Regions from separate parts of the Homo sapiens genome. Here all the other regions are linked to region 2. The links are contacts of gene promoters, found by promoter capture Hi-C in blood cells and fetal thymus (Javierre and others, 2016). All regions are on one chromosome and are shown on one strand. The core of a region is centred on a gene start or on the middle of the fragment in contact, and the rest is flanking DNA. Distances in the headings are between cores, read along the strand shown.

Region 1 (4,735 bases), core at 1,751-4,250, 260 kb after region 2:
CAAACTCCTGACCTTGTAATCCACCCACCTCAGCCTCCCAAATTGCTGGGATTACAGGGGTGAGCCACTGCACCTGGCCTCTTCATTTTGTTTTTTATTTTTATTTTTTTGAAACGGAGTCTCGCTCTGTCTCCAGGCTGGAGTGCAGTGGCACAGTCTTGGCTCACTGCAACCTCCGCCTCCCAGTTTCAAGCAATTCCCCTGCCTCAGCCTCCCCAGTAGCTGGGACTATAGGTGTGTGCCACCACGCCTGGCTAATTTTTTTGTTGTTGTTGTTATTTTAGTAGAGACAGGGTTTCACCATGTTAGCCAGGATGGTCTCGATCTCCTGACCCCGTGATCCGCCTGCCTTGGCCTCCCCAAGTGTTGGTATTACAGGCGTGAGCCACCGTGCCCAGCCCCCTTTCTTCATTTTAATTCTCTGTTACTAGAACTCCGCAGATGACATCCACCACCAATTCATACCGCTGTCTCACGGCTGCTTCAGAAGCTTCTTGTTTGTCTCTTGCTGACACCTTGCTATGTTCTCCGGGAGGCTTGTTTCAAACGTTTCATTCTCCCAGACCTTTAAGTGACCTCCCACATCTGTCTGTCTTTGATCTCAGGTAGGCGCCGGCAAGCTCCTTTCTTGCCCCTCTCCTTGCAAATCCAAGGCCGACGGTATGTGCCCTTCACCTCTTCCTCCACCTCCTGCCTGTGAAGCTTAATCTAAGTCATCAGTTTCTCCCTCTCTACTGGCTCCGTCCTTCAGGGTCATTCCAACCTCAGAAAAACCTTCCCTCAACACGCTGCTCCCTCAGGTCACTCTGCCCTCCCCATTCACTGGGAACATCCCAAGAGACACATTCTGTTTTTTCCTCTTCACCATCTATGCATTCTTTACCCCCTTAGATTCTGCCTCTGTACCTTCCATTCTCTGAAACCACACTCTGGAAGATCATCAGCGACCTTCTGTTGAAATCCTCAACAATTCTGACCTCTTCGAAAGGTCAAATCATCTTTCTAGAATTTTATCCTGCTTGGTTCCCGTAATTATGTTGCCTCCCGTCCATCTGGCACGTGTCTTTTTTACTTTTTCCTCTTCCTCCCCCAAGACCACGTGCCTCCCACCAACAGGTACGTGAGTGAGCCATGCCGGAATCAGGCCCTCCAGCCCCAGTCAAACCTTCAGATAACTGCTGCCCCATTCAACAGCTTGACTGTAACCTCATGGGACTCTGAGCCAGACCCACTCACCTAAGCTGCTCCCCAGTTCCTGACCCACAGAAATGGTGAGATGATAAATAATTATTTTTTAGGCTGGGCTGCTACATTTTGAGGTAATCTGTTATACAGCAATAGGTAACTAACACAATAATCTACATAGTGTCTTCCCACAAATAAAATTAATTAATCCTCACAACTCCATGAAGTAAGCATATTATCATCTTCGTTTTATTGATAATAACCCTGAAACTCAGAGAAACCAGCTGGGAATTTACTGAATTGTTTATACTTCACTTCCTTCAAAAGAGGAATTAAGGAGGCTCAGAAACAACAAAAAATACATTTGACCAATGATAGGAAAATCAGTACAAGCAGGCCTCATGCAGTGGCTCAAGCCTATAATCCCAGCACTTTGGGAAGCCAAGGCAGGAAGACTGCTTGAGCCCAGAAGTTCAAGACCAGCCTCGGCAACAAAGCAAGACCCTGTCACTACAAAGAATAAAAATAAATAAAAAACTTAACTGGGTGTGGTGGCATGTGCCTATAGTCCTAATTAATTGAGAGACTGAGGTGGAAGGATTGCTTGAGCCCAGGAGTTCAAAGCTGCATGAGCTATGATTGTATAACTGTACTCCAGCCTGGATGACAATGTGAGACCGTCCCAAAAAAACAAAAAACCAGTAAGTGGCAAAGTCAGGATTTAAACCCAAGTCCTCTGATTCCAGACCCCAAAACCATTTCATTATTCTGTAAGAGCCCTTGTCAAGTCAAGTCTCCTCTAATGCCTAATGCAGCGCACAGAACACGCCACAGTGCCACACAAGGATATGCGCTGAGACACACAGAACAGACAAAAGAAAAGGGCAGTGTGTACGTAAATGCTGATTGTGCTAGACAAGCGACATATGCAAAACCATACTAAAAACCAGCCTCTGTGGCTGCAGTGCCAGGAAATGTTTTGCTGAGGAACCAGAGCCACGATTACAACTCAGTTCTGTGAAGCCTCAATGAGTAACGTCAAACAACTCCTCTGGCAAAGTCATTGGGGTGGTTGCCTCAGCAGACACAGAGACACACAAGACCCAGTCCCTGCCAGGAAGCTGTTAGCTCTCCAGCTGGAGAGAGGCACTCCACAAACATTTTTTGCATACCAGTCTAAGCCAGGTACCATTCCAGGCACAGGGATGCAGCAGGCAACCAAGCAGAATTTACACTCTGGTTGGGGAAAACCAACCAAGAAGACAAAAAAAGCAATACAAAACTTAAGAATAATATCATAAGGCCAGGTGCAGTGGTTCACGCCTGTAATCCCAGCACTTTGGGAGGCTGAGGCGGATGGATCACTTGAGGTCAGGAGTTTGAGACCAGCCTGGACAACATGGTGAAACCCTGTCTCTACTAAAAAATACAAAAATTAGGCCAGGCGCGGTGGCTCACACCTGTAATCCCAGCACTCTGGGAAGCCAAGGCGGGCAGATCACGAGGTCAGGAGTTCGAAACCAGCCTGACCAACATAGTGAAACCCCGTCTCTACTAAAAAAAAATAGAAAAATTAGCCGGGCGTGGTGATGTGTGCCTGTAATCCCAGCTACTTGGGAGGCTGAGGCCGGAGAATGGTGTGAACCCGGGAGGCAGAGCTTACAGTGAGCCGAGTTCGCACCACTGCACTCCAGCTTGGGCAATAGAGCAAGACTCCGTCTCAAAAAAAAAAAAGAAAAATTAGCCGGGCATGGTGGCACATGCCTGTTATTCCAGCTACTCGGGAGGCTGAGGCAGGAGAATCGCTTGAACCTGGGAGGCAGAAGTTGCAGTGAGCCGAGATTGTACCACTGCCCTCCAGCCTGGGCAAGACTCTGTCTCAAAAAAAAAAAAAAAAAAAAGAAGCATATCTTAAATATTTAAGATGTCAATGGCAAAAGTGCTTTGTAGAAAATTCGAGTAAGGGCAGGGAGACGAGTGTGCTTGGGGGACGTGGTTCTTTCATATAGGATGGTTGTAGAAGGGCATGCTGATGAAGTGGCACCTCAGCAGACCCTGATGGAAGAGGTGGCGAGGACGGCCATGCAGATATTCAGGGCAGGAGCTTCTCAGTGGAGAGTCCCTGAGCTGGGGGCGCACGTGGTGTGCTGGCAGAACAGCACAGATGGGAGTGAGCAGGAGGGAGTGGATGCAGAGGAGGTCAGAGAGGCAGGGGAAGAGAGCGTGGGCCATAAACAGACATGGGCTTTTATTCTAATCAGATGGGAAGCCATTTGGGAGGTGTTTTTTGGGTTTTTTTTAAGACAGATTCTCACTCTGTCACCCAGGCTGGAGTGCAGTGGTAAGATCTCAGCTCACTGCAGCCTCTGCCTCCCAGGTTCAAGCAATTCTCCTGCCTCAGCCTCCTGAGTAGCTGGGATTACAGGTGCCTGCCACCATGCCCAGCTAATTTTTGTATTTTTAGTAGAGATGGGGTTTCACCATGTTGGCCAGGCTGGTCTTGAACTCCTGATCTCACATGACCCACCTGCCCGGCCTTCCAAAGTGCTGGGATTATGGGCGTGAGCCACCGTGCCCAGCCATTTGGGAGGTTTAAGCAGAGGTGTGATGTGACTGCTTCACATTTTCAAAGGATCACTCTGGCTGCTGTGTTGAGATAGACTGTATGGGTGGGGGGACAAGGATGAAGACAATGAGACCCACCAGGAGGCCATGGCAAAAATCAGATGAAAGACCATGGTGCCTGGGACCAGACGATGGCGATGGGAGTGGAGGTGGTGAGGAGTGGCCAGGTTGTGGATATATTCTGAAGAAAAATCAGGGTATTTACTAATAGATTGGAAGTAGGGTGTGAGAAAGAGAGGAGACAAGTATGACTCCAAGGCTTTGGCCTGAGCACTTGAAAGGATGGAACCATCCGTCATCAACGGAGATGAGGACAACTTCAGGTAGAACAGGTCTCAGGCAGGCGATCCGCAGTTCACTTTGGACATGTTAAATCTAAGATTTACTGACATCCAAATGAATTAATAGGTAGGAATGTGAATCTGGCATTCCAGAAAGAAAGCTGGGCAACATATAGAAAGGGAGCAGGGGAGAGAAAGCATCTATTTGGGAGGTGAGAGCATACAGATTGCTTTTAATAATGTGAGACTAGCTGGGCGTGGTGGCTCACGCCTGTAACCTCAGCACTTTGGGAGGCCCAGGCAGGTGGATCACCTGAGGTCAGGAGTTCGAGACCAGCCTGGCCAACATGGTGAAACCCCGTCTCCCCTAAAAATACAAAAAATTAGGTGGGCATGGTGGCAGATGCCTGTAATCCCACCTACTAGGGCAGCTGAGGCAGGAGAATCACTTGAACCCTGGAGGCAGAGGTTGCAGTGAGCCAAGATCACGTCACTGCACTCCAGTCTGGGCAACAGAGCGGGACTCTGTCTCAAAAAAAATAAATAAATAAATAAATAATAAAGACTGTGAGACGGGATGCAGTCATGAGGGAGGAGAGTAAATAAAGAGCAAAAGGCCAAGACAGAGGTCTGGCCCACTCCAT
Region 2 (4,772 bases), core at 1,761-4,260:
CATTTACTGAAGAAAATACAAAACACTTTTTGCTAACAATTTAATACTGTTTTTGAAACAATTCCTATTGTGATAAATTCATAACAAAAATCTGCAGCTGATTACACAATATTCAGTATTAATGTGCAAATATATAGTTGGTAATCTTGTGAGGGGAAAATAAACCAAGAGTATACACAATTATAGGAGTAAATTCATATTAAGCATGTCATTTTATGAAATGAAATATGTACTACTGAGAAACACAAAGGACTGAACTACTGAAAATGCAACAGCATGACTGAATCTCAAAAACAGTATGCTGACTAAAGGAACCTACATACAGAAGAGTGTATATGTATGATTCCATTTCTATGAAAAGGCAAAAGTAATCTACCATGGCAGAACACAGATGCATGGATTCATCAGAACTCAAAGACTGAAAAAAAACATAAGGAACTTTCTTCAGTAATGAAATGCTTTATATCTTTTTTTTTTTTTTTTTTTTTTGAGACACTTTTTGCTCTCTTGCCCAGTCTGGAGAGCAGTGGCATGATCTCGGCTCACTGCAACCTCCACCTCCCAGGTTCAAGCAATTCTCCTGCCTCAGCCTCCAGAGTAGCTGGGACTACAGGCGCCCGCCACCATGCCCAGCTAGTTTTTGTATTTTTAGTAGAGATGGGGTTTCACCATGTTGGCCAGGCTGGTCTCGAACTCCTGACCTCAGGTGATCCACCTGCCTCGGCCTCCCAAAGTGCTAGGATTACAGGCATGAGCCACCATGCCCGACTGAAATGTTTTATATCTTGATGGCAGGTATGGAGTACTTAAGTCTTTGCATTTGTCAAAGCTAGAAAAGCCATAAACTTGAAATCTGTGCATTACACTGCATATAAATAATACTTTAAATAATTTTAATGTTTGTGCAACACTTACCATGAAACATGTTAAAAGACAGGCTGGGAGAAGATATTTGCCATCTGCCCATCTAACAAGGTATTGTGGAGATTATATACATAAACATAAAATGTATGCTAACAACAGTATAAAAGATGGTAGGGATAACCTGTTGTAAGGTTATCACACCATATGTGAAGTGGCATAATTTATGTAGACTGTTAGAAAATTAAAGATGTATATTGTAAAACTGAGGACAACCATTTAAAATTATATGTAACTAGTAAGAGAATGGTGAAAAATAGAAATTACTAAGAAATAGAATACTAATATAAAAATAGAATTAAAAAAAAAAACCTCAACCTCAAAGCAGGCAGTTGGGGAGAGAGAGAGAGAGAGAGAGAGGTATCACTGAACACCTGGAACACACAGAAAATAACTAGTAAGATGGTAGATTTAAATGCAATCGTATTAGTAATCACATTAAATGTTTGGTGATATGATTAAGATCCAGAATAGATTTTTAATGAAATACCTATAAGCCAATAAGAAAAAGATCTCACAACAGAAACATTGGCAAATGATATGAAGAGGAAATTCACAGAGGAAGAAACCAAATGTCAGTAAACATGAAAAGATGTCCAACTTCATTAATCAGGGAAATACAAATACAAATTAAAATAATGAGCTACCATTTCACAGTCATCATGTCGGCAAACGTTCTGAGTCCATTATCAGTAAGTATGAGCCAGGATGGGGAAAGAGAAAATCACACGATAGTGGGTGTGTAAGTAGGCACCATCCCTTCAGTGAGCAGTTCGGGAAGCCGGGGAAAGATGAAGGTGCTCTTGCCATCCAGAGTCCCATGTCTAGGCGTCTCTAGAGACGCACTTTAGCAGTGCACAATGAGACATGCATGCAGATGTCGCTGGCAGCAGGTTTGTTCTCATTCCTCTAGGGGGAATGGAACGTAAACTGTAGTTTATGTATTCAATGAAATACTATATTGTGGGTAAAATGAATGAACCAGATATTCTTGTTTAAACATGTCTGTATCTCAAAAACAAAATGACCCATGGAAAAAAGCAAGTTGCAACAGGATAGGGACTGGATAATATCATTCACATAAAATGTAAAAATACCAAAACCAGTAGTGTGCATTGTTTACGAATGCACACATGTTAGTTAATGCATAAAGACCTGGGTGAGAACTCTAGCCTCCGGGAAGGGAGGGGACAGGATGCATAGCTCTGGCCTTACCTCTATCTGTAACTTTCCTTTTTTTTGTTTTTTGAGACGGAGTCTTGATCTGTCCCCTAGGCTGGAGTGCAGTGGGGCGATCTCGGCTCACTGCAACCTCTGCCTCCCGGGTTCAAGAGATTCTCCTGCCTCAGCCTCCCAAGTAGCTGGGACTACAGGGCCGCGCCACCACGTCCAGCTAATTTTGGTATTTTTAGTAGAGACAGGGTTTCATCACGTTAGCCAGGTTGGTCTCGATCTCTTGACCTCGTGATCTGCCCACCTCAGCCTCCCAAAGTGCTGGGATTACAGGCATGAGCCACCACGTCTGGCCATAACTTTCCATTATCTGAGCTGCCAGCATACTGAGTCCTGTTGCCTTCCAAGACCAGCTCCACTCCTGGGGTTCCATTAGGTAAACACAATGTCCTCTGCTCCCCCCCGCCGTCTTCCCTCACTTAAGTTAGTTCCAGTTGGGCTTCATCGCTAGTAACCAGGACGCCTGCCTATAGTTTCTTCTTTTTTTTTCCTTTTCAATTCATCCCCAGTTCTCGCCACCTCGTAGGTATTCAATTAATACATGTTTAAGTGGACCTGTCCAGGAAGGGGAGTTCTCAACTCTAAGCTCCTGCATTTCTTTTGGGACTTCTCATGGTTACAAAGAGCATTCATTCATACTGTGACTGAGGGTAAACAAGTCGCTGCCCACTCGGCCTCAGTTTCCTCCTAAATGACCCGTCTGGCCACTTCCAGCCCCAGCAGGGTCTGATTCTAGGAATTCGGTCCTTTCATGTCGAAAACAACACTCGGGCATTTCACAAAAGCACCCAACCCCCTGGCTCCCCTTGGAAGCACAGCCCGCGTCCCTGGAACCCGGGCTGCACTGAGCTGGTCACATGAACTCCGGGCTTTCTCTGGTGTGACGGGTTTCTTAGATCCCTTTGTGAGCGCAGGTTTTGAAAGGGAACGACCCCGGGTTCTGGGTGTGAGAGGCGCAGGGGATCGGCGGGAGGAAGGCTGTCGGAGCCAATCAAGCCGCCTCCAGACCCCAGCACGTCGCCTGGGCTGCGCGCTCCGACTGCGCCTCCGCCCGCGCGCCTCCCGGCCTCGCCCGAGGGTGCCTGGGCAGGCGAGGACCCCAGGTGAGAGGCCGGAGGGTCCTGGAGGGTGGGAGGCCCCGGCGGTTCGGCCCGGGCTCCACGACGGGCTGGCCCGGGCTCAGGGCGTGTCCGTCGCCGCCGGGCGGCTCGCTCGACACTGTTCGCTCCTACCGGCTGTAGATGGAGCTGTCTGGGTTCCGGCAGCCTCCGACGAGCCTCGGAGTGTTTCTCTTTAAACGGCCTGAGAGGGACATGCCTCCCAGGATGCAGTTTGTAGCAACATGGCAGCTGCTGTGCAGCTCCCCTGCTAAAGAGGCGCCGGGACGGCAGCGCAGCTCGCAGCCGGGGCCGGGGCCGGAGCTGGGGTCCCAGCCGCGGCCGCAGAGGGGCGGCGCGCGGGCCGGGGGCCGCCGTTGAGGGCCGGGGCCCAGCTCGCCGCCGGGACGCAGCCGGCCGGGCCGCCCGCACAGCCGCGCGCCCAGCTCCGACGCCGCCGCTCGGGCTCCGCGACCCCGCGCCCGCTCGCCCCGCGCGCCCCGAGCAGGCCGGGGCCCGACGGCCGCGCGCGAGCCCCGGCGGGGAAGACAGGGCTGGGCCGGCGCCGCCTGCGGAGAGCGCCGGGCGGCCGGGCCTGCGTGGGGCCGCGCGCAGTAGCGGCGGCGGCAGTAGCGGCGGCGACTCCGGGGGCCCGGGCCGGACAGCGCAGGGCCATGGCCGAGGCGGCCCCGGCTCCTGTGAGGGCGGCCCGCGCGCGCACGGACGCGCGGCCTCGGGGCCCCGGGGACGGCCTGCGTGTCCCGGGCTCGGCGGCCCGGCCTGGGATCTCGGTAAGGGGCAGAAACGCTACGACGTTGGCGCGGGGGGTGGGGGCGCCCTGGAGGGGGCCCGCGCGTCTTGACCCGGGCGGTGGGGGAGGGCTACGGGCCTCGCCGCCGTCCGTGCGAGGGAGGCTGCTCTCACGCCCGGCCCGGCACACACGCGGCCCCGAGGTGGGGCGCCCGGAGGCGCGCTCGCTCCCTGCGGGGCCCGCGCTGCGTCCGTCGGGGTAGCCGCCGGCACGTTTTCCGCAGAGCTCGGCCCCGCGGAGCCTTCCCCGGCCCGGGCGCGGCGCTGACGCGGCTCTCCCATTTCGCAGAACGGAGACACTGAGGCACAGACACCTGGCGGCGACCCGCCCTGCCGGCCCCAAGGTCACGTAGCAAGGCATCCGTGGCACGGTGCGGCAGCCCCAGAAAGGCCTGCCCAGAGGGCTGCGGGCCTGGACGGGGAGGGGGTGGCTCTGGCGGCGGCCGCCCCTGGGTGAGGGGCTGGGCCGCCCTGGCAGCGGACGCGGCCCGTCGGGGGCGGCGGGGGAGGCCGGGCAGCGCCCAGCTGGGCATCTCCGCGGTGGGAGCAGGTGACCCTCTGAGCTCCAGCCTCTGCCTCCGGCCTCTGCGTCTGGAAGGTCGTAGGCTAAACTTTGAGTGCCCTGACAGATGGTGTCTGGGGAGTAAGCTTCTCAGGGGTTGGGGGCTGATGTTCCTCTTCAGGAAGACACTCTTAAAAAATCATCCCTCA
Region 3 (4,619 bases), core at 1,210-3,709, 310 kb after region 2:
AAATCTCATGATGTTCTAGGAAAGTTTACGAATTTGTGTTGGGCCGCATTTAAAGCAGTCCTAGTCCGCATGCGGCCTGGGGGCCGCGGGTTGGACAAGCTTGATTTAGAGTTTTGTATGCGGCTTCCCTTATATTTCTATTAGCCAGGACTGGCACAACACAGGATCATCGCTACCATCCCACCTATACACAAAAAAAAAGGTTGGAAAAAAGAAAAACAGGTCCAAGAGTGGAGGTGGCACTTCCCTCTGCTCTACCCCCTACCCATCGCTGCTCTTCCTCCTTTTCCCAGTCACCCCTCATGTGCCAGGGTGGCTCCTGACCCAGTACAATTGCTCTCCTAGAGGTGACCAAAGACCTCTTGGGTGGCAAATGCGATCAGTGCTTTCCCCGCGGCCTGACCGTCCCCTTCTCATTCTACGGGGCTGCGTGCAGGCGCGGCCCGGTCGCCTCGGTCGCCCTGGCAACTGGCCGCTGCCGGCCCCCGCAGGCCTTGGCAAACACCCGCGAATGAACCGCCACGCACGCGAGGCCACTCCAGCCTCCGGGTCCGCACCATTCATTCGGCAGCTATTTCGGGAGGGCCTCCCGCGTGTCCCGAGTCCGGTGCCGGGAGCCCAGGCGTCACGCAGCGCGGCGGGAATGCGCCTCCGCACACTTAAATGCCGCCCGCGCCACCGCTCAGATTGCTGGTGACGAACGCTCCCGCGGCCGCGAGAATGGCTGACGGCTCCCCAGCCCAACCCCGCTGCGCGTCTGGCGGGCAGGCGTGGGGCTGACACGCAGCAGGCACCCCCTCGACTTCAACCCAACTGCAGGGCCCCGGGTCTCATAGCTGCCTGCGAGTGCCCCTCAGACCTGCGGCCCAGCCTGGTGTCCCCGGGTGGGCGGTTTCACACCCACCCGCTAAGTCCCCTCACGCGAGGCTGCAGCCGCCAAGCACGGGCGACAGGCGACGTGGCCGGCGGGACCCGAGAACGGCGCCTATGCCTGGCAGCTCCCTGCCCGCCCGCCTTCCTCCCTCGGGGTCTGGGTCTCGGGGGCTCACAACACTCGCGCGCGGCCGCCCTTACCGGGGCCGGGGCCGCCTCAGCCATGGCCCTGCGCTGTCTAGCCCGGGCCTCGGAAGTCGCCGCCGCTGCCGCCGCTGCCACCGCGCCCGGCTCCAAGCAGGCCCGGCCGCCGGGTCCTCTCCACAGGCGGCGCCGACCCGGCCCTGCCTTCCCCGCACGGACGGGACTCACGCGGCCGTCGGGGCTCGGGACGCGCAGGAACGCGGCGGAGGCGCGGTGCAGCAGGCGGCGGATCAAGCTGGGGTCGCGAGGCCGACTCCGCCGCACTCCACCCGCAGCGGCCCCTCAGCTGGCGCTTTGTGGGCAGCGAGTGCACCGGGAACCGCGCGGGCCTAGACGCGCCGCAGGCTCGCGCTGCCCAGCCACCGCGGCCAGCGCGCCCCCTGCCGGCCCCTGCGGCCAGCGCCCCCCGCGTCGCCTCCGCCCCTCCCCCCCAGCTCTTGGGCTTCGGTGTGGGGAGGGTTGTTATTTGGGGCCCACGTGTGTTCCGCTTTCTCACATTCCCACGAGAAGGTTCAGCTCACCGCAGTTTAGGACCCAGCCGCAAAGCCGGGCTCATTCTGGGGAGTGATTTTCTTCACGGAGGCTCGATACGCAGGCGCCGTCTGCAGGCAACAGCTTCTGCTGAAGGGCAGCCGTATTTAGAACAGCGGAAATGTGCAGGGTGAGAGTAAGGGGGACACGGCTGAAGGGAGCCTATGGGTGGAATGAGTGACGGAGAGGCACAATTTTGGAATGAAGAAGATATAGATCATTTGCGGAAATTACAAATGTGGTTGCCAAGGTGAGGCGGTTCAGGTCCCACGCGGCCTGTGTTGGGATCAATAATATTTTAAGGTCTCCTTCACATCTCGGATTATTGACTCTCCGGGGCCTGGTCTGGAAATAGGATTCTTAATTTTTGTTTATTTATTTATTTAGAGACGGAGTCTCACTCCGTCGCCCAGGCTGGAGTGCAGTGGCGGGATCTCGGCTCACTGCAACCGCCTTCCGGGTTCAACCGATTCTCCTGCCTTTGCCTCCCAAGTAGCTGGGATTACAGGCATGTACCACCATGCCCAGCTAATTTTTTTTTTTTTAAGTGGAGACGGGGTTTCACCATGTTGGCCAGGCTGGTCTGAAACTCCTGACCTCAAATGATCCACCCGCCTTGGCCTCCCAAAGTGCTAGGATTACAAGCGTGAGCCATTGCGCCCGGCCTTATTTATTGATTTATTTAGAGACAGTCTCCCTCTGTCGTCCAGGCTGGAGTGCAAGTGGCACAAACAAGGCTCACTGCAGCCTTAAACTGCTGGGCTCAAACGATCCTTCCCCTCAGCCTGCCCGAGCATCTTGGACTACAGGCGCAGCTACCAAGCCCGGCTAATGTTTTATTTATTTGTATTTATTTATTTACTTATTTATTTTTCTGTAGAGACAGGGTCTCGCTATGTTGCCCAAGCTGGAGGAAGTGGAATTCCTGAGAGCAGCAGAGATCGAGCTTGGGGTTACGGTTTGCTGCGTCTGAGCAAAAGGACCTGCGAGAACAGGCCGAGCGCAGTGGCTCACGCCTGTAATTCCAGCACTTTGGGAGGCCGAGGCGGGCAGATCACCTGAGTTCCAGACCAGCCTGGCCAACATGGTGAAACCCCGTCTCTACTAAAAAATACAAAAATTAGCCGGGCGTGGTGTCGTGCACCTGATATTCCAGCTGCTCCGGAGGCTGAGGCAAGAGAATCGCTGGAACCCAGGAGGCGGAGGTTGCAGTGAGCAGAGATGGCAGCACTGCACTCCACCCTGGGCGACAGAGCTAGACTCCATCTTAAAAAAAAAAAAAAAAAAAAAGGACCTGCGAGAACAAAGTGTTTTCTGGTGAGGTTGTGTTTTAAGTCAACAGAGTGTGTGTAACAGCAGTAGGTTCCTTGCCCAATGCACATAGCAAGTCTATATGCAGAGACACCAGGTTGCAGCAGAGAAAGAGGTCTAATCATAGGGCCACCTAAGGAGGAGACAGGAAGAAGCCTCACATCCATCTCTGCTAGGAATTTGGGAATTTGGGGTTAGAGTTTGTAAGGGTAATGGAGTTGACTGATTGGTGGGAGAGTGCTGGTGAAATCGTGGTACAAGGAGATGAAGAAACTACATTCTCATGCTCATCCCATTCCTCTGTGGGGGGTCTTCAAACTGGTTGAACTCAACTGTTTCACCGGAACTCGTGGTCTGAAAAACATCTTAAGCGATCCTTAAACAAAAGCCTTATGATTCTAATGTCAGAGATCCTGTCTACAGGAACAACAGGGATGCAAATCAATTCTTAGTCTGATGTCTGAAATCCTATCTATAGGAACAATAGAGATGCAAATGTCAGTATCTAGTGCCTTGTGACTATTAGCAACAAGGAAGTAGGCCGAAGTGCAGCCTGATTAATGCTTAATTATAACTATATTTCTGTCCAGAACCTGCATGCAATTTTTGTGAACCCTGTTGGGGCGGTTTCATGTGTGTGGTGATAGGATAAGCACATGACCCTGGTTTTCCAGGAAGTCTTCATTTCAAACATGTATGAATCAAACCCTGCTAAACCTGTATTTCAACACATGAATCAAGTCAATGCCCATAACAGTATAACTATCTGTAAATCACAAAAGTATGAGAACTATCCTGTTGGGGCAACTGCTCTTGAGCAGACTAAGTTACTTTTCGCCTGTGGCTACATATGCAGTCCGTAATTTGGGATTTACCTGAATATACATATTTGTCAGATGGTGAATGCTTAATAATGAAAATTGCCATTCTCTGACTCACAATATGAGTAGATTACAAAAAAATAATAATCTGAATTTTCTTGGAAAGAAAATTCTGTTGTATAATTTTATTATTTAAAATGTAGTAGCCGAGAAGCCGGGCACGGTGACTCACGCCTATAATCCCAGCACTTTGGGAGGCCGAGGTGGGTGGATCGCCTAAGGTCAGGAGTTGGAGACCAGCCTGAACAACACGGTGAAACCCCATCTCTACTAAAAATAGAAAAACTAGCCGGGCGTGGTCGTGGGTGCCTATAATCCTAGCTACTCAGGAGGCTGAGGTAGGAGAATCACTTGAACCTAGGAGGAGGAGGTTGCAGTGAGCGGAGATTGCACCATTGCACTCCAGCCTGGGAAACAAGAGTGAAACTCCATCTCAAAAAAGAAAAAAAAAAATGTAGTAGCCGAGCACAGTGGGAGGCCGAGGTGGGTAGATTGTTGGAGCCCAAGAATTCAAGGCCAGTCAGGGCAACCTGGTGGGACCCTGTCTCCATAAAAAAATACAAAAATTAGCCTGAAATGGTAATGCACACCTGTCGACCCAGTTACTCGGGAGGCTGAGGTAAGATCACTTGAGCCAGGGAGGTTGAAGCTGCAGTGAGCTGTAATAATACCACTGCACTCCAGCCTGGGCGACAGACTGACATCCCATCTCCAAAAAAAAAGTAGTAAAGTTTTCAAGTTTGATGTTATAAGGCAAGAACAACAATTTCTGTCAGATGCTCCTATGGCCATTTAACAGGGACATTTGTATTACTAAAT

What was found. Contacts are between HindIII fragments. The CHiCAGO score rates a contact against its expected background, and 5 or more counts as called.
Region 1: a contact is called between a fragment that was not itself captured here and the fragment with the promoter of ZNF777 in region 2, in 3 of 17 cell types (naive CD4 T cells, naive CD8 T cells and M2 macrophages). The highest score is 5.6, in naive CD4 T cells.
Region 3: a contact is called between a fragment that was not itself captured here and the fragment with the promoter of ZNF777 in region 2, in 9 of 17 cell types (naive CD8 T cells, total CD4 T cells, non-activated CD4 T cells and 6 more). The highest score is 7.2, in naive CD8 T cells.

The regions. Positions count from the first base shown.
Region 1 is chr7:149,200,502-149,205,236 of GRCh38, reverse strand. All of the region lies in intron 2 of ZNF282 (zinc finger protein 282), which reads right to left. Among named protein-coding and RNA genes, the nearest start is that of ZNF282, 7.3 kb to the right of the region's middle. RefSeq lists an enhancer at 1,764-2,264. The HindIII fragment of the contact is 4,592 bases long and covers 705-4,735 here.
Region 2 is chr7:149,459,300-149,464,071 of GRCh38, reverse strand. ZNF777 (zinc finger protein 777) reads left to right here and starts at 3,010. Exons shown (of 6, transcript NM_015694.3): 1 at 3,010-3,257. RefSeq lists silencers at 3,030-3,369, 3,540-3,609, 3,900-3,979, 3,990-4,349. The HindIII fragment of the contact is 6,109 bases long and covers 1-4,711 here.
Region 3 is chr7:149,144,222-149,148,840 of GRCh38, reverse strand. ZNF398 (zinc finger protein 398) reads right to left here and starts at 1,388. Exons shown (of 6, transcript NM_170686.3): 1 at 1,075-1,388. The coding sequence starts at 1,098. It overlaps LOC107986856 (a long non-coding RNA gene), which reads left to right and starts at 1,480. Exons shown (of 2, transcript XR_007060581.1): 1 at 1,480-1,858; 2 at 2,489-4,619. RefSeq lists silencers at 474-523, 664-813, 1,108-1,279, 944-1,583 and enhancers at 889-1,462, 1,894-1,943, 2,037-2,610, 2,611-3,184, 3,185-3,758. The HindIII fragment of the contact is 4,715 bases long and covers 102-4,619 here.